Linked DNA regions of Homo sapiens: all the other regions are linked to region 1. Evidence: promoter capture Hi-C in 16 types of primary human blood cells and fetal thymus (Javierre and others, 2016). All regions are on one chromosome and are shown on one strand. Each heading gives the region's core, a stretch centred on a gene start or on the middle of the fragment in contact. The rest is flanking DNA. Distances are from core to core; before and after follow the strand shown.

Evidence for each region. Contacts are between HindIII fragments. The CHiCAGO score rates a contact against its expected background, and 5 or more counts as called.
Region 2: a fragment that was not itself captured here is called in contact with the fragment with the promoter of AUH in region 1 in 1 of 17 cell types (naive CD8 T cells); the score reaches 5.3 in naive CD8 T cells.
Region 3: a contact is called between the fragment with the promoter of SEMA4D here and the fragment with the promoter of AUH in region 1, in 2 of 17 cell types (neutrophils and total CD8 T cells). The highest score is 9.1, in neutrophils.
Region 4: a fragment that was not itself captured here is called in contact with the fragment with the promoter of AUH in region 1 in 1 of 17 cell types (neutrophils); the score reaches 8.2 in neutrophils.
Region 5: a contact is called between a fragment that was not itself captured here and the fragment with the promoter of AUH in region 1, in 1 of 17 cell types (neutrophils). The highest score is 5.3, in neutrophils.

The regions. Positions count from the first base shown.
Region 1 is chr9:91,358,956-91,364,190 of GRCh38, reverse strand. AUH (AU RNA binding methylglutaconyl-CoA hydratase) reads left to right here and starts at 2,273. Exons shown (of 10, transcript NM_001698.3): 1 at 2,273-2,563. The coding sequence starts at 2,302. RefSeq lists a silencer at 2,103-2,542. The HindIII fragment of the contact is 2,357 bases long and covers 1,563-3,919 here.
Region 2 is chr9:89,397,441-89,402,675 of GRCh38, reverse strand. It overlaps SEMA4D (semaphorin 4D), which reads left to right. Exons shown (of 16, transcript NM_001371194.2): 5 at 3,338-3,400. Among named protein-coding and RNA genes, the nearest start is that of SECISBP2, 82 kb to the right of the region's middle. The HindIII fragment of the contact is 8,794 bases long and covers 1-5,235 here.
Region 3 is chr9:89,495,810-89,501,044 of GRCh38, reverse strand. It overlaps SEMA4D (semaphorin 4D), which reads left to right and starts at 2,932. Exons shown (of 16, transcript NM_001371194.2): 1 at 2,932-3,126. RefSeq lists silencers at 2,843-3,032, 3,463-3,612. The HindIII fragment of the contact is 2,547 bases long and covers 2,513-5,059 here.
Region 4 is chr9:89,594,490-89,599,724 of GRCh38, reverse strand. LOC105376139 (a long non-coding RNA gene) reads left to right here. Exons shown (of 2, transcript XR_930105.3): 2 at 1-929. Among named protein-coding and RNA genes, the nearest start is that of GADD45G, 7.9 kb to the left of the region's middle. The HindIII fragment of the contact is 9,165 bases long and covers 1-5,235 here.
Region 5 is chr9:89,662,195-89,667,429 of GRCh38, reverse strand. It overlaps LINC03062 (long intergenic non-protein coding RNA 3062), which reads right to left. Exons shown (of 6, transcript NR_024280.1): 2 at 2,048-2,502. Among named protein-coding and RNA genes, the nearest start is that of LINC03062, 25 kb to the right of the region's middle. RefSeq lists enhancers at 4,046-4,582, 4,583-5,120, 5,142-5,235, 5,121-5,235. The HindIII fragment of the contact is 5,920 bases long and covers 220-5,235 here.

The DNA of each region.
Region 1 (5,235 bases), core at 1,024-3,523:
AAGGGGTGGGTCTCCCGCTTGTCCCTGGCTCCCGCCAGAGAGCGTGCAGCCCTGGCCATGCCTCCCTGCTGCAGCAGTAGGCCGTCTGGAGCAGCCGCTGCCATCTCTAGTACAGTAATTCTCATAATTTTATTTTGCCTTGGTATCCATTTTGAATATGTTTAACTTTCTCATATGAGAAGCAGGGCTCAATCACCTTTGATACAGTTTCCAGTTCTCTGCTTCCTCCCAGTTCTTCAATGTGATCCATCCAGATATCTGCTTAATGCAACTGCTTCCTGGTGACCATCTCCCTATGGGACAGGTAAATGCAGCCTGCTTGACTCACCTGTTGACCTCCATAACCCACATGGACTGTGTAGATGGGCTCCAGTGACCACCTCACAGTGACAGGGTGACTCCATGGAACTTGTGCCTGCTTGTTCTAAACTCACCAATTAGAACTTCCATGGGAAACTGCTTGGGTAACACGCTGGACCCCAACAGAGGCTTTAGCTCCACAAGTGCCCCTTCCTTGACCCCCTTCCACTGGCTGAACTCCCTGTCACCTCCAGATTTACCCTCCCTCTGGTGACCACAAGACCAAATTAGAAAGAAACCATAACAATAAAAATCACAACACCCAGCAGTCAACATGTACATCATTATCAGAAAAGAGGAAAGATACAAAGGAAGCAAAGTTTTCCTTGTAGTAAACTTCAGGAAAATTTTCCTGCATGGAACTTTACAAAAGATAGAATAAAAAGTGGGCTGTGCATGGTGGCTCACACCTGTAATCCCAGCATTCTGGGAGGTCAAGTTGGGTGGATCACTTGATGTCAGGTGTTCAAGACCAGCCTGGCCAACATAGAAACACCCATCTCTACTAAAAATACAAAAATTACCCAGGTGTGGTGGTGTGTGCCTGTGATCCCAGCTACTCAGGAGGCTGAGGTGGGAGGATCATTTGAGCCTGAGATGCAGAGGTTGCAGCGAGAGGCGATCACACCACTGCACTCCAGCCTGGCCGACAGAGCCAGAACCTGTCAAAAAATAAAAAATAAAAATAAAAATAAAAGTGCCTTCAACATCATTTTACAGCAGATGCAGTAATGGAATTCAGTCTACTTTTTGTTTCTACATTGGATAAAAGTTGAGGACATAATGAAGGATGTTTTGCTTAGGACTAAAAAATACAAGAAATTTCTGTGGCACTAGACGTATGCTCATAGCAGCACACTTTTCAAACAGTATTCTTTTTTTTTTTTTTTTTTTTTTTTGAGACAGAGTTTCACTCTTGTTGCCTGGACTGGAGTGCAATGGTGCAGTCTCAGCTCAGGGCAACCTCCGCCTCCCGGGTTCAAGCAATTCTCCTGTCTCAGCCTCCCGAGTAGCTGGGATTACAGGCGTGTGCCGCCACACCTGGCTAATTTTGTATTTTTAGTAGAGACAGGGTTTCACCACGTTGGCCCGGCTGGTCTCAAACTCCTGACCTCAGGTGATCCACCTGCCTCGGCCTCCCAAAGTGCTTGGATTACAGGCGTGAGCCACCGCCCCCTGCCCAGTATTCTTAAATGCAAGCTTTCCCATTAGAGATCTGATAAAAGCTAGGTAGCATTAATTATACTGCAACGTGCTTTGATGAGTACCTACACACTAAATTGATATCCCGAGTTTCTGGAAGAGCTACATACTCTAAATCCCATCTCAGCGTATGGCTTGTTTGAACCCCTGTAAGACTCTTTCCGTCCAGGAAGGGCCATGGGACATCGGTACGAGTGGGTGGGCTGGAGAAAGAACTCCTTTGCCTGTTTGCTGTTCTCATCCTTTTCCTGAACGCCACGTAGTAAACATCATTTATGCTTATCAGGGACGCTAAACCAACAACCTGAGATCCATAAGTAAGGCAGTGACCAACGATGGGCTGCCACACTTTCAGCCAACTTGAGGAGACAAAACTTTTTTGTTCACTTTTGCAGCTTACTTAACACAGGACCGCAGGGCATGGTCCAGGGAGTACGGGGAGATAATTCCCTCCGGGTGGTTCTTATAGAAAAGTCTTCCCTGAATTATTCCATAACCTTGGAAAACTACTTTCTTTCCTTTTGTATTGGACAAACCATCCAATCTCGCTTGGAGAATGGGGCAAGGCCTCGGGTCACCGGGCTTCGGCGGGGCAGTGAGGGGCGGGAACACGGCTCCGGAGGGCGGGGCCAAGCCGGAGCGAGGCGGCGGGTCCGGACGCCGTGCGCGTGCGCGCGGCAGGTCGGCGCCGGGCGGGGGCGGAGCGGCCGTCGCAGGTCCACGCCGTAAACAGACAACATGGCGGCCGCGGTGGCGGCGGCACCTGGGGCCTTGGGATCCCTGCATGCTGGCGGCGCCCGCCTGGTGGCCGCTTGCAGTGCGTGGCTCTGCCCGGGGTTGAGGCTGCCCGGCTCGTTGGCAGGCCGGCGAGCGGGCCCGGCGATCTGGGCCCAGGGCTGGGTACCTGCGGCCGGGGGTCCCGCCCCGAAAAGGGGCTACAGCTCTGAGATGAAGACGGAGGACGAGCTGCGGGTGCGGCACCTGGAGGAGGAGAACCGAGGTGAGGTGCGAACGCTGGGCAGGCGCGGGGCAGCGGGCGGCCGCTCGCTCTCAGGACGGGCATAAGGTGCAGCGTCCGCCGGCAGGACGCGGGGTCGAGGTCAGGCAGGCGCACCGAACCTGGGTCCCTCCCCTTTCTCACCTCCCTACTCACCCAGCGTGGCCGCTTCCTTGTGCACCTATTTCTTGCTTTTAATAACCTAAACGTGTACCCCCGAGCAGCTTACCTGTAAAGTGACCGCATTCAGCGCGGCAAACAGAAGTGCAGCTTACGCCCTCCGCTCCAGACAAGCCAAGGTCAATATATACCCTGGGGATTTAATCCTTGCTACCAGGCTTTATTGTTGCTGTGTAATGGCTTTCTGTAAACTCAGCTATTAGTGGTGGAGTTGTAAAAGCTGCGGTGAAACTGCCTTTTATTATTACGGAGAATCTTAAATTTGAAGCTGCTCAGCTGGAACAATTTTTCCTCTTGTTCATTTTCTCTTAGAAAGTTAGTCTTGAGGGACTGTTCCACTTCATTTAAACAATTTTGAGCACTTTTTATTTTCCTCAGCTCTGGCGATAAGAATGTGGATGGTATGGATCTTGCCCTTGAGCTACCTTCTACGGGAGGAGACATCATTAGCAATACAATACAGAGCTTTGAAGGCTTTGAAGGAGGCTGACAATCCTAGGGAATACTGTTACAGCTCAGTTCCTTTCACTGGCAGTGCAGGGAAAAGCTAAAAGGGTCGTGAAGGGTGGAATAGCAGTTTCCACCCTTAACCTCCGGGTTAAGCCAGAGGACCAGTGTTTTAATTTTGACATGCATTTGTTGAGCACCTATAATCTGTTAAGCAGAAGTGAAAAGCGTGTAAGTCGTGATTGGTTTTAGTGTAGTGAAGCAGATCCTGGTTATTAGTAGGCTGTGTGAACTTTCAAGGCATGGTAAGAGGAAAGGGCTGTAATACCTGCAGGGTTTCGCCATTTGAAAGGGGTTCCAAGGCATTCTTTAATAGGCAGTGGATTTTGCCATTTGTGAGGGTTCTTGGGCAGACTTATCTCACGTGTAAAACAGGAAAAACAATACCAACTTTATAGGTTTGTTATGAAGATGAGATGAGATTGTTAATGTAAATTGCCACTAGCACGTAGCAGTGCTTCAGGAGTGTGATGAATGACTTTATTCCTTACTTATTATTCCAGACAGAGACAAGAACATGGTCAAAGGCATGGAGATGTGAACATGTGTGGTGTATTTGGGACGTAACATAAGGCAAGTGTGGCATAAGCAGAATAGTAAGAAATTCAGCTGGAAGCATAGACTAGCACTGGAGTGATTAGAGCCTGAATGCCATCATCTTTTGGGTAAGCTTAGTCATGCCGGGACTTCACTTCCGTTAAGTGTACCAACAATATGTTAGATATAAAGGGATTGCAAGTACAGCTACTAATATGCACCATATTCTATTTTTTTGGTCGTTATGACTTGAATGCAATTAAAGGAATATTTGTGCAGAATGTCTGGACAGACTTTAAGTTAGGATCTGAATGGACAGAAGAGAGAATATCAGATAATAAAAGATAATAAACGAAAATTTTTTTGGGTATCATGGTTTCTTTTTTTTTTTTTCTTTAGCCTTGATTTCCTGATGAGATAGGACATACATCATGGTTTCTTAAAGTTGACCCCGCCTCCTTTGAGAATTGGCAAGAATGACGACTCAGGCTTGGCTAACATTACCTAGGCTTTGCTTTGCTTTACTGTTGAACCAGCAATAAGCAGTGCAAAGAAAAACATGAGGTCAAGGGTACTACAGGTGAAGGAGTTTCCTGGGTGCCTTTATTTCTCTTAGAGGTGGGTCCAAAATTTGGTGCTCTCAGCAGCCTCTAAGGAATAGGATAACTCTCCTAGTCACAGGAGCCTCAAACAGCATGCAGCACTTTAGGTGGGTGGGGGTAAGTAGTGCAGAATACACCAGGTCTCATCTGTTATCTGGGCTCCATATTTGTAATTTGTTGTAGGAGGCATAGCTCTATAACCAAATTTCCTTTTCTTTTCTTTTTTTTTCTTTTGAGATGGAGACTGCCCAGGACTTTGAGGCTGCAGTGAGCTATGATGGAGCCACTGCACTCCAGTCTGGGTGACACAACAAGACCTTGTCTCTTAAAAAAAAAGAAAAAATGTATGAACCTATTTATGTAGAATAGCTCCAACAGAACATATGATCCATTTATGTAAAATAGCAACAACAAGCCAAATGGTAATATACAACTCTATTTCTGTATGTAGATACGTTGAACATTTTCTGGAAGGTTACATTACATGTAACTGTGATAACTGTGGCTTCTTCTGGGGAAGGGAATGAGCTGGTTCTAGGGAAGGAGGACTTTCACTTTGAGTGTATTTTTTCATTTTGTATAAGCAGAACGTATTTTGTTTTGTTTTTAAAGTCTCAGCAAAGTTGTTACATTCATCTTTCAGTTGTGTGAGCTTTATAGAGCAGGATTCATGCTGTGATGTGACCTTGTTACAGATTCACTGAAGATTTTTGTATGTTTTGTGAAAAGTCAGGAAAATTAAGGTTGGCATGTGAACGCCTAAGCTTTTCTGAGTTTGGTAAACTTTCTAGGTTATGTGAGGAGGATGCATGATAATTGAGTTCTTGAGAAGTGATTGAATTGTGAATT
Region 2 (5,235 bases), core at 1,490-3,989, 2.0 Mb after region 1:
TTATTATGAAAAAATCTCAAACATACCTATGAGCAGAGACAGCTATGCCATGAGCCCTGTGCCCACTGCAGCTTATGCAAGGCCGGGTGTTCAGTCTTGCCTACAGTACCCTCCACCTCCTGGGGCATTGAGGCAGATCCCGACACCACATTCTTCATCTGGGTATCTCTTACTGGAAAGGGCCCCTTGTCGTGCAAATAATCAAAAATAGCTTCTCCAAAATTTATATCATCATACATTCAGCCAGTGTTCATATTTCACCGACTCTTGTGGATGATGCTTGTTTAGTTGGTTCAAACGTTTAGTTTGAATCAGGTTGCAACCACGCTGTCCCAATCCATTGCAGCTGGTCACCCTGTCCATTCAGTCTCCGCTTCTAGGAGCCAGCCTCGGTTTCCTTCCTGAGAAAGCTACTCTGCACAGCCCATCCCATGTCCCACTCTTCACATTGCTCCTGATTCCTCGGTGTCTTTAAACATTTTAAAAAATCAAACCGAATTTAAAATTTGATTGTAGCTCACTGCAGCCTCAAACTCCTGGGCTCAAGTGATCCTCTTGCCTCAGCCTCCTGAGTAGCTGGGACTGTAAGTATGTGCCACCACACCCAGCCCCACTCATGGTGTCTTTAGCATGCACCTCTGTCTTCACATCCCCAGCTGGGTGTCAGATCCAGGCTCATCCCTCTCAGGGCTGTGAGGCGGGCTTCTCCATGGAGGCAGGTGTTCCTCCTCCTCAGTCTCGGTGGCCTTTGACCAGCGAAGTCTAGATGCTCTTCTCATCAAAGATTGCAAAACGCAATGTTCTGATTCTACCTCTCCTTCTCTACTTGTTAGCTGGAAATCGTATAAAAGGGGAAGTGCCCATCACCAGCTATTTTGGTCCGTAGAGGTCCCATTTCCTTTGGGAAATGCAGAATCGATGCTTGGAATCTTTGCCTTTATTTACCAGTTTTCAGAATAATGAGTTAATGAGTCAGTTTCCCCTCTGAAGGGCAAGAGTGAGTTTTTTGATTGATTTTTAGTGTCACAATGAAGTCATAGATTTAAAGATATTTGCTCTTCTTTGACCCATCACAGTGAAACACCTACCTCATGCTCAAATCGTCGCATCCATGGTCAACAGCAGCCTGTTTGGGTTGGCTCCTGAGACCTCGCGGTGTGGGGTTAGTTTTCTTGCTCTCTGGAATCTGTTCCAGGTTCACGCTGGACATTTTCTGCCCAGATCTCTTTTTGTTTTCATCTCCAGGGTCTAGCTTATTTCTCAATTTCTGTTTGACACATAAATGAGCTCTGAGCATTATGCTCTGAAAACAAGTATTTGGCTGGGTGCTGTGGCTCACGCATGTTATCCTAACACTGTGGGAGGTCGAGGTAGGCGGATTACTTGAGCTCAAGAGTTTGAGACCAGCCTGGGCAACATGGCGAAACCCTTTCTCTACAAAAACTGCAAAAAATAGCCAGGTGTGGTGGCTCAGGTCTTGGGAGTCTGAGGTGCTTGGAAGTCTGAAGTGGGAGGATCACTTGAGCCCAGGAGGTCGAGGCTGCAGTGAGCTGAGATCATGCCACTGCAGTCCAGCCTGGGCAACAGAGCGAGACCCTGTCTCAAAAAAACAAAAACAAAGTATTCAGCACTGTGAGGCACTCTGAGCAGAAAGATGTGGTGGTCTCACCTCACTCAGCTCTTACTCTTCGCGTGTCTGTTAAATTCTCTTCCTCTGAGCGCCTTCCTGACCACACAGGCTCACACTCGGTCTTGGGGGAATTGTGGACAGTGTGTTTGTGCTGGCCCCACAGGTGTTCAGTGAGAGCCAGACATTGCTCTGTTAATGACACCATGGTGGTCCCTCGGGGTTGGGGAGAGGCTTGGGGACCTCTTATACTTAAAAGAAAAAAATAAAGAGACCCCCGCCAAGCATCAGTGAAAATCCCTGCAAACGTGATCAAGAGTCTGTTGAAGTGTACGTTCCCTTGTCCTTATGCATTTCATGCGAGTTGACGAAATCATCTGTACTTTAAATGCTGAAGGAAGTGGCTATTTTAAATGAGACTCTGTTCCGCTTTTGTGTGCCCCTATCAGGACTTCCATTTCTATGAAATGACACTCCCTTAGTACTGTGTCTGCAGCCTGGGTGCTGTTCAGGAACTCACAGAGTTAGTTAGAAACCTAAAGTGGGGTTCCTCTCCTCATACTCTCCCTCCTAGAAGCCCTGTGTGCTTCCTAACCTCTGAGTCCTGACACCTGCTACAAGCCTTTTGGTGGAGAAAAATACATTGTTACTGGTTTCTTTTGCATCAGTTATGGAACATCACAGAGAGAGGGGGCATTTTGGGGAAGGTGAGGCAGAGATAGATATAGAAACCTTCCCTTTTGTCTTATGTTGCTTTCTATTCTGTGGGGGCTTTGGAGGGCAAGGGGCTAAGGCCCCCACCCCCTGGAAGTTTCTGATCACGAATTGTCCCTGGTTTGAAAGAAGAGGTGGTAGGAACATGGATCTTACTAAGATGGTGCCTGAGCTGAGCTGGTGGTGTTAGTTCATCACTTCCTCCTGCTGCCAACATGCAAGTTTAAGGAATCGTAAATCTCCCTTTCTACTGATACAGTGAATATTGTGGCTTTTTTTTTTAAACTGGACTGTAGAGTCACTTTTTTTTTTTTTTTTTTTTTTTTTTGAGACGGAGTCTTACTCTGTTGCCCAGGCACACGAGGCTGGAGTGCAGTGGTGCGATCTCGGCTTACTGCAACCTTCGCCTCCCGGGTTCAAGAGATTCTCCTGCCTCAGCCTCTCGAGTAGCTGGGATTACAGGCGCCCGCCACCACTCCCAGATAATTTTTGTATTTTTAGTAAAGATGGAGTTTCACCATGTTGGCCAGGCTGGTCTGGAACTCCTGACCTCAGGTGATCCGCCTGCCTCAGCCTCCCAAAGTGCTGGGATCACAGGTGTGAGCCACTGCGCCCGGCCTGTAGAGTCACTTTGAATGGATGGAAAAAAGCCCACTTTGATGTTTGAAAATACTTATGGTTTAGGTTTTTGAAAAATAATTTAATTTTCTCCACTTTCACGAGTTTGATTTTTGCTGCTGTTTTATGGTGAGTGATGGAACTTTTGGAGCTGGTCTTCCAGACTCCACTGGTTTCAGGATAAGGATCACAGTGAGGATGTTCATGAAGGCCCCAGGCTGCTCCCCTGCTCTCTGAACCTCCCTTGCAGTCTGAGAATTGATCATCTCAGGAGAAACCTCTAGGCTCTAAACTCTATCATGTGCTTTTAAAATTGTGCATTTTTATACTAGTATCTCTTTAAAAGAATATGCACTGATATGGACTCTATCCCAACAGGTGTATTGGAAGGTCTCAGAAGACAAAAAAGCAAAATGTGCAGAAAAGGGGAAATCAAAACAGGTAAATTTCTTTTGCAAGCTACAAAGAATCCCATTCAAGTATTTCTTGGTTGTTTTAATCTACTGAATGCCAGCATGCCTGCAGTGCAGGCCAGCCTTTTCTCCAGGCTCTGTTCATTCTGCTGGGCTTGGTTTTGTTGTGATGCGTCTTGGAGCTCATCCCTCTATTCCTGAGTATCAGGATTGGGTTTCTCAAAGCAGGTGCCAAACATATTTGGCCTTTGAGAAATACTTTTTTAAAGTTTATATGAATTGAATGTATTCAGATGGCCTGAAACTTTGACTACAGAACACTGGTGAATAGTGAAGCCCACTGGTGAATAGTGCAGAAATTCAGGGTTTGTTCTGCCTCCTTGCACCCAGAGGCCTTAGGCTTGGAGGAGTTGCTAGTCATGCAGTTTTTCTCAACCCCTTCGTTGGACTTGCGACAGAGATGCCCCATTTATTCGGCCTGCTGTGCTCAACCTCTTGCAGGAGGGAGCACATGAGTGAGCAAGTGTGGGATCTGGCCAGCTGTTTTGGGTGCCAGCAGGAGCAGGCTTTGTGTGAGCCCTGAGGGTGGCACCCAGGTTGGGGTGCCTGTGACCCCCGCAGCCCCAGAGGGTGCGTTACAGTGCTCTCTTATCTCTGTTCTCCATGGACAGTGGTGTGTTATAAGCTCAGTGGGCCCCTTTTCTCATTGTGTGGGACAGCTGTCCTCTGCCAGTGAGGGCAAAGGGCCAGTATGACAGCCTTTTTTGGGTACACACACTCAGGGTCCTGAGCTCTTGTCCGGCATCCAAGAAGAATGAGGTTGCATGGACACTTAAAGGATGGTGGAGTCAGAGAATTTTGTTTAGTGTTGGAAGTGGCTCTCAGCGGAGATGGGAGCTTGAGAGGGAACAGGACGAGCAAATAATCTTCCCTGAAGTCTGGCCAGCTCTGGCCGGCTCTTCTCCAAAGTTAAGCCATTTCTCCAAAATCCAGCCATCCCTCTGAAGTCAAGTCACCTCTCTCTAGTCCAGCACCTTCTCTTCTCTATCAACTGAGTCTGGGCTCTTATAGGCACAGGATGAGGGCAGGGTGGGCTGTGGGTAGTTTCGGAAAAGGCAACATCTGATTGTAAAAAGATGTTCAGAAAGAACCAATCGGGAGACGGCGGGCAAACAGGGATAGAAGTTCTCACTCTGGGCTGCGGGTTTTAGGCTTTTTGGCTCACATGTGGGGTTTTGCCAGGGACCTGCCCCTGTCTGCCTAGACTTTCTCTGGCTCCTTTCTCTATCACTGGGACTTTTGGATTCTTGGCACACGTCCGTCCCTTTGGTCCCTCAGGCCCCTCAGTGTGGTACTCATTCAGGGAGCCCTGGGCCGAATACTCATTCCCGTCTGCAGCTCTAGGTTACCCTCATCACCCTCTGAGCCATCATGTCCCTACCTGGCACTGGGCATTCTTCCTCAATGGTGGTCAAGACAAGCTGAGTTAAAGGCAAAAGAAGAAAGAAAACCCAAAGAAGTCTATGCTAAACTTTCTTAGCAAAATGCTAAACACTTGCACTGAAGTCTTTGTCTCTAAATCCAAAGTTAGATTAGGAAATGAGAGGAAAAGCAGGCGGTGCAGTGTAGCTCCGGTTTCCGGGGGTGTGCAGGTGGGTTGGGGTGAATAGTGAATTACTTCCAACCAGTCTAAAAAAGAGAACTCTCCTAATCTGGGATAATTTCAGACTATAGCACATGTAACGCAAGTACTTTTAGCCTAAAATAGTGGGTTCTGAAATGGTATCTTTGTTTTCCTGCTTGGGCCTTTCTGATGCCAAGCCGGGCTCCAGGCTCTCCTAGTGCAGCCACTCCCATGGGGGC
Region 3 (5,235 bases), core at 1,683-4,182, 1.9 Mb after region 1:
CTCTGTCGCCCAAGCTGGAGTGCAGTGGTATATGATCTTGGCTCACTGCAACCTCCGCCTCCCGGGTTCAAGTGATTCTCCTGCCTCAGCCTCCTGAGTAGCTGGGATTACAGGTTTGTGCCACCATGCCCACCTAATTTTTGTATTTTTAGTAGAGACGGGGTTTCACCATGTTGGCAAGGCTGGTCTCGAACTCCTGACCTCAGGTGATCCGCCTGCCTCAGCCTCCCAAAGTGTTGGGATTACAGGCGTGAGCCACTGCACCCAGCCTGCTACTTTTATATCTATGTTTGAAATGTCCCACGACAGAGTGTGAAACAAGAATAAAAAGGCAAGCTTGGTCACTTTGGGAGACATAGGCAATCATGCTGAGAGAAGGGAACAGGGAAGAAGGTCAGAGAGGAGGGAAGAGGAAGACCTAATAATGGCATCCAAGTCCCGGTTCTAATGGTACTTGGGGCATCTTTGGATGCAAGTGAGCCAATAGTATGGGCTGAAGTTCTATCACTTACAACTAAGAGTCCTGTCTCCTTCATGAATGCAATAAACATGTTTGGGGGCAATTTTATATAAGCACGGTGCAAAGAAGCCCTTGTGTTCGCAGCCTGGGCATTGCGGAAAGCTTTTTGGAGTTTTTACTGAATTCTCTCATGTTCTTCTGTATGCATTAGGAAACAGGCTAGAGAGGACAGTATTCTGGAAGGTCATGATGCCAGAAGTGTGGGCCCCAGGACAGCCATGCAAAGTCTCTTCTTTGCCCTGGGCTGCCCTCTATTAGATTCTGAGCATGTGGGTCTAAAAGCCAGGAGAGAATTCAGCAGTTGTTGAGAAGCATACCCCTCTGCTGCTGGTCCCCTCCCTGCAGTGTGTTCCCAAGGTGGCCCCAGGCCTGTCTAGACGCTGGCTGTGAAGGGCACGCTCCTGTAGGGGCAGCCGGCTCTTCCACAGTGAGGTCTGTCAGAAAGCGCCCACGATAGGCAGGAATCCACTTTCTCATCTAATTTCCACCCATCTGTCCTCATTCTGCCCTTCATAACACCACAGAGTAATCCTTCTTCCCGGGACAGTTTTGCACATATTGGGGTTCTTCTGTCTTGTGCTCCACACATTGATTTTCTAGGCTGAAGACTCCCGGTGGGTCAACTCCCCTCCCACGGGATACTGCTGGCTGCCTTAGACACCAAGCAAGGGCATGGTATTCTAGATGTGTCTGACTAGTGAGGAATAAAAGAGAGTCCCCCCACCCCACCCCAATCAGTGCAATGCTTGCATGTGTAGATCCTAAGCGTGCATCCCTCCTTGGGTATAGAATGCTGTTAAACCAGTTCTGTCCTAATCCGTTCCCATTATGTTTCAATCCAAATGGGATGTGGAACATGGATTCATGGACCCCTACAATTGGAAAAGAGCTTGGAAAAGACTTCTCTAGTTTTTCCTGTAATAGTCACCAGCACTGAACCCGAGCACACGGTGCAGTGGGCTTTACCTGCCATTCTCTCTCCGTGCTCCCCAAACCCTCCAGGACGACCACACTGTCCTCATGTTGCAGGGTACAGAGGTTTGCTGAGGCCTGAGGTTATTTGGAAACTGCAGAGCTGTGAGTCAAGGGAGTCTATCAGATTCCAGGTCTGGATTCTTCAGCAAGAGGGTGGTGGCTGCCATGCCGTAGAGGGAGGAGGGGGTGCGTGCTCCACCCCACCCTGCTTGACACCAGCTTTGCCATCTTAGCCTTTGCTGGGCCGAAGCCCTATTCTCAGAGCTCCGGCACTGAACCACAGAAACCACAGGAGGCCCTAGAACGGAACTCTGAGACTGTTGGGCCTTTAACTCTGTGACTGTTGGGCCTGGGACTGGCTTCATTTGTAAACTCTGGCTCTCAGAGCCAGTGCTCAGCAGGAAAACAGCCTCAGGGCCCCTGCCCCTCAACAGCAGTCTGTAGTCCAGGGAGGTATCACCTGGCCTGGAGAGGGGCTCCCCAACTCCTCACATTTAGGGGAAATCTTAGCTGGTTCCGTAAGAAACTGTGTCCCCTTCTCAGGACTGTGTTCCTCAATAGGCCTCCCAGCCTGGCCAGTCACTGTGCGAGCCCTGTCACCTCTCCTGGGGGCAGAGGGAAGAGGTCTGGATGGAGCAGCACCATCTCTGAGGGCCCCCAGATCCCCAAACCCATGGGCTAGTCACAAACAAGTCTCACCAGCAGCCTCACAGGAGGACCATTTGCCATACAGAGTGGAAAATGATGAACGTTTGGCAAAAGGCTAGCACGGGGGTTCAGGGAAACCAAGACTCCAGGTGGTGCCAGCCCCTCCCCTGGGGAATGGGAGCAGCCTGGTGTGAAATATTCTTGCCCAAAGTCAGCAGCCAAGTGTTCTGGGTGCCACGTGCCTCACGCACACTGCAGGTCAGGTTCTCAGAAGAGCTGGCCCAGGGTCTGGGGGTGAAAAAAAACTGGGGGATTTGGGGGAGGCCTGGAAAGGGTGGGGTTCATCCAGGACCCCAGAAGGGGCAAGCTTGTCTATTGAGAGCTGGTGAGGAAGAGGGTGACAGGGCACCTCTTGGTCCTGGGAACGGGTGCTTGACTCAGCAGAGACCAACCCAGGGCTGAGGGACAACCCTCTGGGCCTGGCGGGGAGGCAAGAGAGATGGGAGGTGAGGAGGAAGGAGTGGGGAGCAAAAGTGGGGAGAAGGGGAGAGAGGTGGAAGAGTGTTGCGAAGGTGAAGAAAGAGGAGGAAAAAGAGAAGGGAGGAAAAGAAAGGTTGGGGGAGGGAAAGGAGGGAGGTGAGCAGGGGCGAGGAGGAGGGAGGAGGAAGGAGGAAGAAAGGGGCGGGGCCATAGGAGGGAAGAGAAGAAGGGGGAGAGGAAGGGGAAGGGAAAGGGGAGGAGGCGGGAAGGGAGGGGGAGCGGAGGAGGGGCCTGCGCGCCCGCCCCGCGCACTCCGTCCCCGCGCCGGCCTCAGCGCTCTCGCGCGCCGCAGCATCCCAGCCGCCGCTGCCGCCGCCGGGCCTCCCCGCCACCCCCTCCCCGGCCCGGCCGCCTCCCGCCGCTGCCGCCGCCGCCGCCGCCGCCATTCCTGGCGCCCGAACTCGCCCGGCCGGGAGCCGCCGCGGGCAGGACGCGCGCTGCAGGTAAGCGGCCGGGCTGGCGCGGGAGGGAGGGCGCGCGGGGCCGGGCAGGTGCGCTGGGGGCGGCCTGGACCCTCCGCGGAGCCCCCACTCCACACCCCTAGGCTCCTCACCGGACCCTCGGGGCCCTCCCCGAACCCCTGCAGGAGCCTCCTTCTGGGATCCCCGGACCCCTGGACTCCTTCCTGGATCCCCCCGGGGCCCCTCCTGGGACGCCTCCCAGAGACACCTACCCGGACCCCTCCGACCCCCTGGACCTCTCTGCTATCCCTCCCCGGCCTTCTCCCCTTCCCGGTTGCCTCCCCAGTCCCTGCGCGCAGGTGGCTCCTCTGGGCGCGGGGGAGCGGGGGCGCGCTGCATACCCGGGCCAGGGAGGGGGCGGTGCGCTCGGCCAGGCCCCGTCGCGCCCCGGCCCGCCCAGTCCGGCCCCGCCAGGTCAGGCCCCACTCCGGCCAGCCGGGCTCTGGCCGGGCCCCCGCGGGCTTCTATTTTGGTCGCGGAGGCCGCGGACCCTGTGCACTGGACCCGGCGCCGCGCACTCAGACAGGTGGGGCAGGTTGGGCCGCAGTGGTCAGGTCGCCGCCTTGGCAGTGAGTGCTGCAGGCCTCGGTTTCCTTTCGGGTTTTGGTTGCATTATTCTAGAACAGCCCAGGAGAACCACAAGCCTTAGCTTGGGCTGCACCTGTTGCAGCCGCCTAGTGAGCTGCAAGGGGCTGGCTCTACTGGGGTTATGCCAGTAAAAACGTGTAAAGGAGAGTTGAACTCGTGGTTGTCCTCTATTTTCTGGCTTAGTATTTTGGGGGGTAGGTGGGAGAGTGGGTGAATGGGAGTCTGTAAGTGGGCAGTTTGCGTCAAATGAGGCCTGGTGTCGAGGGCTGGGTCCTGCTTTCCGGAAGGTTTTCCACATGAAGTTGCTTTGCTTTTGTTTTGAAAACCTCACTCTGTGTTGAGCACATCCCAGGCTCGTGGGTGGCCAGGCCCCCGAAGGCCAAGCTGGACGTGGGGCCTGGGGCCAAGCATCTCACCCTGCTGTTCTGAGTCTTTTCAAATCCACCAGGCGCCACGGAACGGAAGTTTCCTTTCCTGGGGGTGACGTGACACCAGTGGCCTGTCACCTCATATGTGTCCTAGGCCTGGGGCCTGCCTGCTGGCTGCCCAGGCGAGGTTATTTGGGAATGTTTACTGTGTCCCAGAAACAGGCAGCTCTGGCCAGTGCAGGGGCAGGATTCTGGTAGAGATGATAATGCCCTGATTGTCATTTTGACAGTTGGTGTCTGCGTATATCATGTCTTGGTAGTCGTCAGCCAGAAGAAGAAAGCAGGCGGGCTCAGCATACCCACCAGGGAGGCTGGGGTGGGAAGATGAGGGATGCACTGGCCTGTTTCTGTGAGCAAAGACTGCCCTCCCATAAGGCCAGACCTTCAGACTGAGAAGAGTGTACGTGGTACACTCAGCGAGTCAAACAAAGAAATAGAAACACATCACTGGTGCCAGGAGCAGCCCTGGGGTCCCAGGAGGGTGGGCCGCTTAGGAGTTGGTAGACGGTGGAACTCAGTGGCTGTATTTCAGAGTGCAGACAGGCAAAAGGCCACCGTGGGGATGCAGAGCCCCAGCTGCCATGCCAGCCCAAGGTCTTGCAGCACAGCACAAGGGAGGGACTCCATGGGAGGGGGCCCACCTCCTGAGAAGCACACCCAGAGTCTGTTGAAAATGCAGCCTTGCACAGACCCCCCTGAGTGCCTGGGGTCCTGGGCTGAGGTTTAGAGTGCAAGACCAGCGACCATGTTGCATTTGATATCCAGTGGGTCTGGGGCCAGGGAGATGTCCTTGGTGACATCATCCACTTGTGGACAGTCCTCTCCATGTGGACCGCTGGAGGCAGATGTTACCTAGAGCCGCTTTCCCCACACCAAGCGGGTGTGTCTAGGCCAAAGCTTGGGAGTGCACGCTAATGGCCAGCTTTGACTGAGGAGGGAGGGAACGTCCGCTGCTGACAGCACAACAGCAAAATCAATAATGCATTGCAAAGATCAATGGTTTTCTCTATCTTCTGTGCTTCTGCATTGAGGCTGTTCAGGCTTCTGCCTCTCTTGGTTCCATTTCTGTTGGGGA
Region 4 (5,235 bases), core at 1,383-3,882, 1.8 Mb after region 1:
AAAACGCCATTCAAAAATGTATATGATAATCAAATATTTATTGCAATGTTTCTTAAAATAGTGAAAAATTAGAAAACATTATAGGGGGCTAGTGTTAAATCATGGTGTAACCAGAAATGAAACATTATGCAACCATAAAAAGGAGTTCTGAAGAGTAGTTCCCGGCATGATATAATGTGAAAAAAAGCAAAATACGAAATTGTGCAATTCTAATTTTGCAAAAACTTTCAGCGTACACGACTATCACTGTATAAAGTCACAAAGTAGGAATGGTGATTGTATCTTGGAGTGATGAGATTATAAGTGATTTTTAATTTTCTTCACTATGCTTTACTGCAATTAAACATTTACAATTCAATTTTATTTAACAAAAATATATAAAACTTCTCAAATGGAGTAACTTCAGTACCAGACATCCTCAACCTGACTGCTCTGGAGGTTATTGTGCAGAGCAATCTTTGACCATATGGTCACAGATCCAGAAGCCAGACGTCTGTGGGGCTTTGCTCCTGAGACTGTGACCTTTGATTCCTGCACTCCTCCTCTTGCCATCTGACGCCGGTCTGCGCCTGTGACTGAGTGAAAATCGTCATAACTGTACTCGGAGGTTAACTCTGGCATGACTGGGATGGAATCCCAGGCAACATGCTGGAGGCAGGAAAGAAGGCCAGCCGGCAAGTCAGAACCAAACACCCTGGACGGCACCTTTCCTTACAAATGCGGTTCACAGGACCCTTGGGGATCCTCTGCGCACACTGAGGCAAGCAGCAATGGAAGAAATTATCTTCCACTCCCTTCTTGTTGAAAATGTCTGTTTTCCAGAAATGAATTACAGTAATAGATTATGAAAATTGTTTCCATTGCCTACATAACACAGCAGGGAATTCTAAAATTTCAAAACATGTAATATACTCAACCTGTGCTTGAGACTGTAGGGTATTATTTAATTTTTCAGTGTTTGAATTTTGTCTGTTTGAGAAGGGTGTGGCACTCCTTGAGTACACTATTAGTAGTATTGTTGTTATTTTATTTACTAGACTTTTCCAGGACTTGCTGTGCACCAAGCACTGTTCCAAGCACTTTGAAAACATTGTTTAATTCTCATAACAAACTCGTTATGTAGGTGCTATTATCACCATTTTAGGCATGAGGAATCTTGGGCACAGAGAGGTTGAACAACTTGCTCAAGGTCACACAGCCAGGAGGTGGCAAAGCTGGGTGTTCTGAGCTCCTCTCTGAAGCAAGAGGGAACAGATGAATTTCACTGTGAAACCATTTCTCGAGCCTTTAGAACAAACCATTTGACCACCAAGGACAAGGAGAGCATCCAGGTGAAAATGAGGTTTCAAAACCATTTTTGGTTCTCCTCAGGAACCCTGAATCCAACAGTGCCTGTCCCAATGTCATGGTTGCAGGGTGACATCTTGCGGTCAAAGAGAATATCGCTTCCAGCCCTAAAAAGTAGCTTCTAACACCTCAGCTGGCCTAAACCCTTCCAGGCCTGCAAGTGCTGCCCTGTAAGCGTGTTTCTGGTGAGCCCATGGGCTCTCATCACACATTAAGGTTAATATCCAGATGCAGCAGACCCTGGTAACAGTGGGCTCAGACCCCACTGTGCCACAGCTGGGCAGCCCCCGAGAAGTCAGGCCGGCTCAGAGGATGGTGCAGTAGGGTTTGGTAGTCACAGAGCAGTGTGAACCACCATCAACAAGGAAAAGAGACCCCACCATCAGGGAGCGTTCCTGTGTCAGCTGTAATACCCATGCCCACTTCACAGATAGGAGTACTCAGTTTCAGGGAGTTTAACGACATGCCCAAGGTCACACAGCCAATGGTGGAGCTGGGATTCTAGCCAGCATGTGCCAGGCCTCCAGCCTCAGGTTCATTGGGCCACACCACAGGCAGAACATTGGCTTACAGCTAAACAGCTACCCTGGGGCACAGCCTACTGTGCAACTCAGCTGTACTTGGGAGGATCAGTCAGGGTGTATACCCTGCTTTTCTTACAAAATCAGGAATTCTCTGAATCACCCATGGTCTTCAGTTCTGAATTCCCCTCATCAGCCACACAATGTGAAGTATATAGGTTATTTTTTCTTACTCACAAACCCACAGGCAAATTTAAACTTGGGAGGGACCTGCAAGGTAACTTCCTCCAAAACTCTGCCTAATTTACCAATCTCTTCAGCAACACCCGACATGAACAGCCTGCCACGGGTGAAATCCCATATGCGGCATGACATCCACCCCAGGGAAGGTGAGTCCCACTTGCTGGTGCATTTCCCATGCACCCAACACCTCCCAGCGTTGCCCTCTCAAAAGGAACAGGAGTCACAGCTCCTTCATCTCCAAAGCACGCAGGTGCACCCTGAAGATGCCCATAGACCTCTGCTGCCCAGTGCATCCAGGGCCAGCAGCCTCAGCTTCCCCTGGGAGCTAATTAGCCTCACAGAATCAGAATCTGCCTTTTAACAAGAGCCCAGGGTAATGCATGCATGCATGCACATAAGTGTGTGGTCATTCATTCGCCAAAAGGTGCAAGGTATAGGGTGGATGGGAGGCGCTGTTTCAGAATCTAAGGGGCAGGATGGTGTGAGGCCCCCACAGGAAGCCGCTGTCAGGCAAGGGCAGATGTGAGAAATATAGACTAGTTGCAGAACCTTGAGGCTTATCACGGTCATGGCCACTCTTCAGATTACCTCTGAATCTGAGAACCGGTGAGGGGGCAGACTGCTCACGAGCCCTCGGGTCTGCTCTCTGATGATCCACAGTAATGGCGTTTTGACTTTGCACAGGGACTCCCAGCCAGAGACTGCATTCCCAGTCTCCCTTGCTGCATGGGGTGGTCTTGGGCCCCAGTTCCTCTACATTCCTTGCTCAAACAGAAGTTTGTAGCTGGCCAACTAGCTTCCTTCTCCTCCTTGCTGTTGTGACTCAATTATGCAGTCACAAGGGAAGGGGTCTGGGGTCCTGCATGGCTGTGTGGAGCCGAGCCTCCTTGCTAGCCTGTACACTCCACACTGTTGTGTTCAGTAGACAAGACACAATCTTCTGTCTTAAGCCTCTGTATTTTGGAGGTATTTTTAAATTTTTTAATTTTGATAAAGTTTCAAACATAGGAAAATTATAGAAATAGTAAAACAAAGTATTCCCATGTACCTTTCACCCAGATTCCCCCATTTTACTATATTTGTTTCAGCTTTGTCTCTCTCCTTCAAGTATATATATTATTTTCCGAACCAGTTGAGGGTAAGATACAGACATGTTGCCTCTTTTCCATTAAATGCTTCAATGTGTATTGCCTAAAAACAAGAATATTATCCTAAATCTATCAACTGTAGTAAAATGATGAAATTCAGGAAATTAATATTGATATAATTACCTAATCTACAAACCATACTGAGATTTTTGTCAGTTGTTTCAGTGATGTCCTCTGTAGCAAAAGAAAGTCCAGGATCACAGGTCCATTCAGTAGTCACATCTCTGTCATCTCCCTGAATCCAAAACCATTCCTGAGTTTTGCTTTGTGACAGTAACATTTCATGGCATTGATATCTTTTTAATATTTCAGGCCTGTTATGTTACAGACTCCTCTCCACCTCCACCCCGCACACTGCTGGGGTTTGGCTAGCTTATCTGCTGTTTCCTCCTGATTCAATTCAGGTGATAAACCATTAACTGGACCATCACAGTGGTGATGCTGTGTCCTTCTTGGTGTGTCATATCAGGATCATGTGCTTTGATTTGTCTTCTGGTTCTTGATTGTCATGGGGTGTCCTCTGGTTATTGATTGCCATGGGATGATGATCATTTGACCAAGATGGTGTCTGCCAGGTTTCTCCAGCCTAAAGTCGCTATTCTGCCCTTTGGAATCAGTGAGTGTGTTTTGCAGGAGGATGTCGGAGGTCATCAGAGCAGGGTGTCTGTGGTCACTAGTGTATGTGCTCAGTTAGCACTGGAGAAAACTCAGCAGCAAACCCAGGCTCTTTCGCTTATCAGGAGCTGTTGAGCATATATATTCACATCCTTCCCTGATATTTTGAATAGATGGGAAATGTTTACTAGTTCCCCTGAATCCACATTAAACCGTAATATTAATTTTTTAAAAAACAGCCCAGAAGAGAACCTGGATGGTGCATTTCCATTTTACTGAAGAGTCTACTGTAAGAAATAGTTCATGGCCGAGAGGACAGTGGGCTGCTCTATTCACTCTCGGTTTCCATGACAGATGACCCAGCTCAGGGTGGTTGAACCAGACGGCTCCACCCAGCCTTCCCCTTGTCTTCTCAGGCTGGATCCCACCGCTCTTGCACTTCCCCAGGATAATTGATTTAAGTAACCTGGAGAGACTCACCCTCCTCATGGAGGTATGTGCGTCCCGGCCCCTGCCTTGCTCTAGGATGCAACAGGCACTAAGTTCAATGAGGAAGAGGATGGCAACCCTGTCAGAGCAGGTGTCATGGACCCATGCAGCTCCCCCATCCTCTCCTTTGCCCAGCTCCATCCATCTCTGCTATTTTCCAGCTCGCCTCTGCTCCTGCTGGCCCCTGGCTTTGAGCAACTCCCTGCCCCACCCTTCAGCGCCTACCAGGAGGCCACCACCAGGCCACCTAGGGCCAATATGCCCTAAGGGGAGAGTCTTGGATCACCCAGGTGCTTCCTGCCTCTTTCCTCTCCTGTACAGTGGTGGTAACAACCTTCATCACAAGGATGTCCTGCCAGGTCTTTGAGTTGCTTACAGAGCCTTGGATCAGCCTCTTACACTGTGCCCATGAGAAGGGGGCTGGATGAGCAAGGACAGTGTCTGCCTCATTCCAGCTGGGAATGAATCCCCTCTGTACAAAGAGACAAAGATCCCTGCTTCAAGGGTCTGGGGACCACTGGCAAATGACAGGCCAGACCCAGGAAAGGGAAGGAGGAAAGATGGAAAGAGGTGGATGCGGCAAGGAGAGGGACCTGCTGGGCCATGGCGGGGGTGGACCTGGCCACACCAGCACTGTGTCAGGCTCTCAGCTGGTGCCAGGCAGTCTCTAAATAAGAGAGTGGGTAAACGGAATGAATTCTAGCAGGGAAGGAGGTAGAATATTTTCTCCAACATATGTCGTGAATATGCAATGTGACAAGAATTCCTCACTCCGTTTATGTCAGAAAATGTATATGGACATCTCCCTTTATAACTAATATGGAGCAATGCAGAGAGACCTACTGCTCTCCCTGATGGGTACTGCTCATTCC
Region 5 (5,235 bases), core at 1,930-4,429, 1.7 Mb after region 1:
AGAAAACTGACATAGATATAATACACAATAACATCTATTCTGATAGTAAATGTTTAGGCACAACTACCCTAGATGACAAATCAAGTCCTCAGATGCGTGCATTCAGGTAAAATTAAGGTAAAATTTCTGAGGATTCCGCCAGACAGTGGACCTTGCTTTGGTAATTCCAGCATTCGCTAGGGCTGTTTTCTGAAATTAGGAACAAAGCTTGGCAAAGCTTGGAGCAAAGCAAAGTCTGGATCCTCCCTTAGTCTATGCCATAGCTGCAGTGTTGGGAAATCCAGTGTCTATCACAGCCATGAGAGAAGTGGGTGGTATTGACAGAACACAGGCATGGGACCAGACCAGATCCCCAGACACAGATCTGCCACCCAAATGAGAAGCCAAGGGAGTGACACTAGCCACAGTGCCGTCTGTCTGTGTGGGGCTTTCTCTGCTTCGCAGAACCTTGAGCGTCCTCAGCCCTGGACCACAAAGCCAGTAGTCCCTATGGTAACTGTTTCCACCAAAAAATGCCCCCACAAATTTCCAGCATGCCCCTTTGAGACCCACTCCCACGGTGAGCGCTGACGCAGGCAACAGAACCCAGCCCTGCAGTGAGGGTAAGTGGGGGCCAGCCCTTTGCCACCGCCCATGCCCAGCCATGATTCCTAAACTCCATCCTCAGCACAGGCATAGAGTCTTTGGTGGCCCCTCCGGGTCCCCTTTGTCAGCCCCTGGACTGTGTGGCCAAACCTGTGCAGAAGCACAAAACCCAGGCCATGCACAAAAAAAGGTCAGCCCTGTTCTGAGTGCCTGGGGATCCAAGCAGGCAACTGGTTAGCTCTGCCTCTGACACGCCAGCCTCCCACAGCCAGCAGCGTGGGCCCCAGGCCAGCTCAAAAGCACTGGAGAGTCCCTCACATGTTGGCCGAAACCTGTAAATTACCCATCAACCCTGCATCCACGTGTTTTGGATTCTAAAGAGTTGCACTTGGATGACCGGGTTCTGAAGCAGGAGGCCTCCTCTCCCGCCAGTGGCCCCAGCCCTGCTCCCTGCACATTGCACCTTTTTTCCTCATTTCTCGCCCACTTTGCTTAGTACTGAACATCTTTGTTCTAGAGGCCCCTTGACTTCCAGAATATGAGTATGCAAATGGGATACTGTGCCCCTGCCCTGTCGGTAATCAACCAACCCACTCTTGCTCCTCTCTTCAGATGTTCCTCTAAGTCCCACAGAGAAGACCACAGTTGTGTAAGACGGTTAGGTAAAGCTATGGGGCCAATGATCTTGTGGACAACCAAAGTCAGCACCTTTGCAAACCAGGATTCATAACTAAATATGCTGGCATTTCTGGCTTTATTCAAACCACTTCCAAACTAAGATCAGCACATAGACAGAATATCACATTCTGGACATAAACGTGGGTCTCCTTCCAAACATGAAACAAGCTAATGAACCAGCGAAAGCCCCAATCTTTGACTGGCTCACGAACTCAGTATTTAAAACAGTAACACTAGGCTTTTGTGGGAACTATTGATGCACATTTAAGTCTTTTAATAAGGGTAAGTAAGAAGAACTCATTCTACAAATGACTCTGGGGATGTTTTTTGGGCTAGTACTCAAGCACACGGCCAGAGCTTGCTAACTCGATGCCCAAATCTGGTGTCTGCTGACAGCTATCCTCAATAGTGAGCAAATTTCTTGGGATCTGGTTTTCTCAGTCTTTAAATGAGGCCAGGTGCAGTGGTGCACGCCTGTAATCCCAGCACTTTGGGAGGCTAAGGGAGGCAGATCACTTGAGCTCAGGTGTTCGAGACCAGCCATGGGCAACATGGAGAAACCCCATCTCTACCAAAAATGCAATTAGCTGCTCATGGTGGTGTGCACCTGTGGTCCCAGCTACTCAGGAGGCTAAGGTGGAAGGATCACTTGAGCCCCTGGAGGCGGAGGTTGCAGTAAGCCGAGATGGTGCCACTGCACTCCAGCCTGGGTGACAGAGCAAGACCCTGTCTCAAAAATAAATAAATAAATAAATGAGGCTAGGAATGGTGCGGACATACCCACCCAAGAGAGATGAGGATGGTGATGGTGAGGGGCCAGGTGACGTGACAGCAGGAGTCTCCAGAGCTGCCGGGAGCCCCTCGGGCTGGGAGGCACCATGGGTACAGCAGCCCAGATGCTGCCGCAGGGCCACTCCAGTGTGCTGTGCTGGGCAGGGCCCTCCCAGGTCTCTGCAGCAGGGAGGAAGCGAGGTGTTACTGGGCCAGCTCTGTTCTCCTGAGCCGGACTGGCTCCCGTCATCTGGACCTAAAGTGGCCAAACAGGTTTTCCAGGTGGCAGCTGAGCTTCTGCAGCATCCGGAACACTTTGTTCCTAGTAGTGTCCCAGAGGGCTGTGTTCACAAGCCAGGTTCAACGTGCGATGGGAGCCTGAAAGGGAGGGCGTATCCTTCATGTGTCCCCAAGCGTGACCCAGAGCACTCCAGAGAAGAAAGTCATCCTCTGTCCGGTTAAACGGGGCTGTGTTTTTAGAGCAAAGGACAGAGGGAAAGGTCAGAGTCTCTCTCATTCGTGCCCTTCTCAGGAGGATCTGAGCTCCCACCAGAGAAGAGGCCTAGAAAGGTGACACATCTCTAGCAGGGCCCCAGAAAATTACATTTTGGAGAAAAGAATGCCTTACCTCATTCTTTGCTTAATTGTCTATGGTAGTGGTTCCAAATCTGGGGAGGTATTTTTATACAGATTCCCAGGCTCCAACCCAACTAGAATCTCTGCAAGGGGAACCCAGGAATCCATAATTCTGATGTTACAGGTGTAAAGGACTAACATTCAGGTGCTGTGACCCACACTCCCAAGATTTCTGGGATACTCACTCCCCAGAGTTGAGATGATAAAGCCTGAGGCATTTCTAAAAATATCAGTCAACTGGTTGAATTTCATTTCTGGTCATGACCACTAAAATTCAACTGAGTCCCAGAGAAAAATTCAGAGATAGTGCATTTTTCATTGTTTTCTTGCCAGAAACCTTGGCTCCGTATTCCTATGCCATCCATTACCATTAGCTGTGTGCTCGCCTGCCAGGGCTGGCCCTGCATTCAGGGAGCTCACACACCCTCCAGCTCTGGACTTCCATACCTGGCTGGGGCACCTATAGCCAATAAGCCACTCACATTGGTAAACCTGGTTTAACTCAACTCTCCTGGTTTCTGTGTTTCAAAATCAGAAATCAGCCAAATGTCACTCCCCACCTGGACCGCCAGCTCTGGAGGAAGGGCTGTCAGGTCTGGGTGTCTGCAGCTCAGCTCGGCACCCGAGGGTGCAAGGAAGAAGCCAGTGGGTACATGAAGGACAGCTTGTTTCTCTTTCTTACTGCTGGCTCTCAGCCAATGTCAGAGGATTATCATAGCCCCTACTGCCTCTCCTCTTCTAGACCCCCACTCCCTCTCCTCTTCTCCAAGCTGCCATTCCTGAAATCTGCTTTCATCTGCCTTCCTTCTTGAATAAGGGAGAAAGGAACTAATAGCAGTTGAATTTTACTGTGCCCGGTGCTTTCATTCTATGTTATCTCTGAAAGCATCCCATTTCTCAAGCAGCCTTTTGTAATATTATCCCGATGAGAAAGTAAGGCCCAGAGAAGTTAAGGACTTTTCACAAGGTCACACAGCTGGTAGCAGAGCGAGCATTCAGGCTCCAGCCTGCATAAGGCAAAGTTGGCCCTTGAGCAAAGTTCCTTGGAATTCAGAGGAAATGCTCCTGTTTCAGAAATTGTCATCTCTACAGGGCCAGGTGCCACAAGGTAGAAGAACAGCCCAGTGCCCATCAAGGCCCACACACAGAGCCCAGGGCAGGAAACCCACACAGGAGAGCCACAGTACCCACAGAAACCACTCCCATCAGCCCTGCAGGACCCTGAAGACACCTGGCCACTGCTCTTCCCTCCAGGCCCGCCTGGGAAGGCAGTGGGATAGAACATACAGGGAGAAAGGAGTGCTGTTGGGGATCCCTGGGACTTCCCCAAGGTGCCCAGATGGCCCACAGAAGCACCAGGAGAGTGAGTCACAGCAATTGCTGGTGACCAGCAAGGAGACAGTGAGGATTTCGGAGCCCAGTTCTGGGGATTCTTGGGCCCATTTTCTTTGTGCACAGTCTGGGGGAGGTGGAGAGGTCAGTTCCTCTTAGATCCTTTCGAAAGTCTCCTCAAGAACCCCATCCCAGTATTGTTCCTCTTCCCATCCCCCACTCCTAACACCCCAGGTGACACCTCAGGGGGACGTTTGTGCTTGGACTTGTAGTCCTAGTCCAAGCAATGACCTCCCACTGAGCGTCTCAAGCATCAACCGCAGCACTGAAAGTGTGTGCTTTGCCGCACAGGGACAGAACCCTGGAGTCCTGCTGTCACTACTTGGTCAGCTGAAGAACGGTGTGGGAGCACGGAGCAGGAAGCAACTCCGGCAGCCTCCATGCAGAAACTGCGCTGTGAGCTCTGCCAGCAGAAGCAAGACAAAGAGGAGGGCCTGGCTGACCCGGTCACAATGCAGCCCACCGGACACCTTGCTTAACTGCGTCGCACAGAACAGGCTGCCCTTCATCACAGCCTCGGCCACAGGCCAGGGCAGCCATGGGCAGGGCGAGAATCGGCAGCCACCCAGCTGCTCTACCATCTGTAAAATGAGAGAACGTGCGGCTGAAACTATAGGACACAGCACAGACGCCTGCCCGGTAGAGTACCCCAGGTGGCTGCTAATCACTGCATGCTGACCACCACCCCCCGCCCCACCACCACAACCATGCGCCCTTCACAGATGGAGAAACTGAGGCTGGCAGCAGCAGTGACATTGTTGGTGTCCGGATAGCACCCCCAAGGCTGGCGTACACGCCCCCGAGCGCTCGGCCCCTGAGGGTGGCTTCCAGATGGCCTGAGAGTCAGCTGCCTCTGTTTTCTTAGGAATCTTCAGCAAAGGGGACAGATGACCTGCTTGTGTTGTGCAATTTGTGTAGTGCTCTGGACCTCCCTCTCTGGGGTCACTGTCTGCTGCCGTGGCCAAAACAACATGTGCTGATTTGTAAATAAACACAGTGAGGAGCCCCCTGAGCCCGCAGGAGATGATGATGGCGCTGGGGGCTGAATTTCACAACTGCGTCCCTTTTTGTTTTCAATTAGCTGAGGAGGTGGCTGCCTGCAGGAGGGCAGGAGGCGAGGGGGAGAGGCTGTTTTCCCTCTTGTTCTCGGGGTTGCCCCAGGAAGAAGCCATT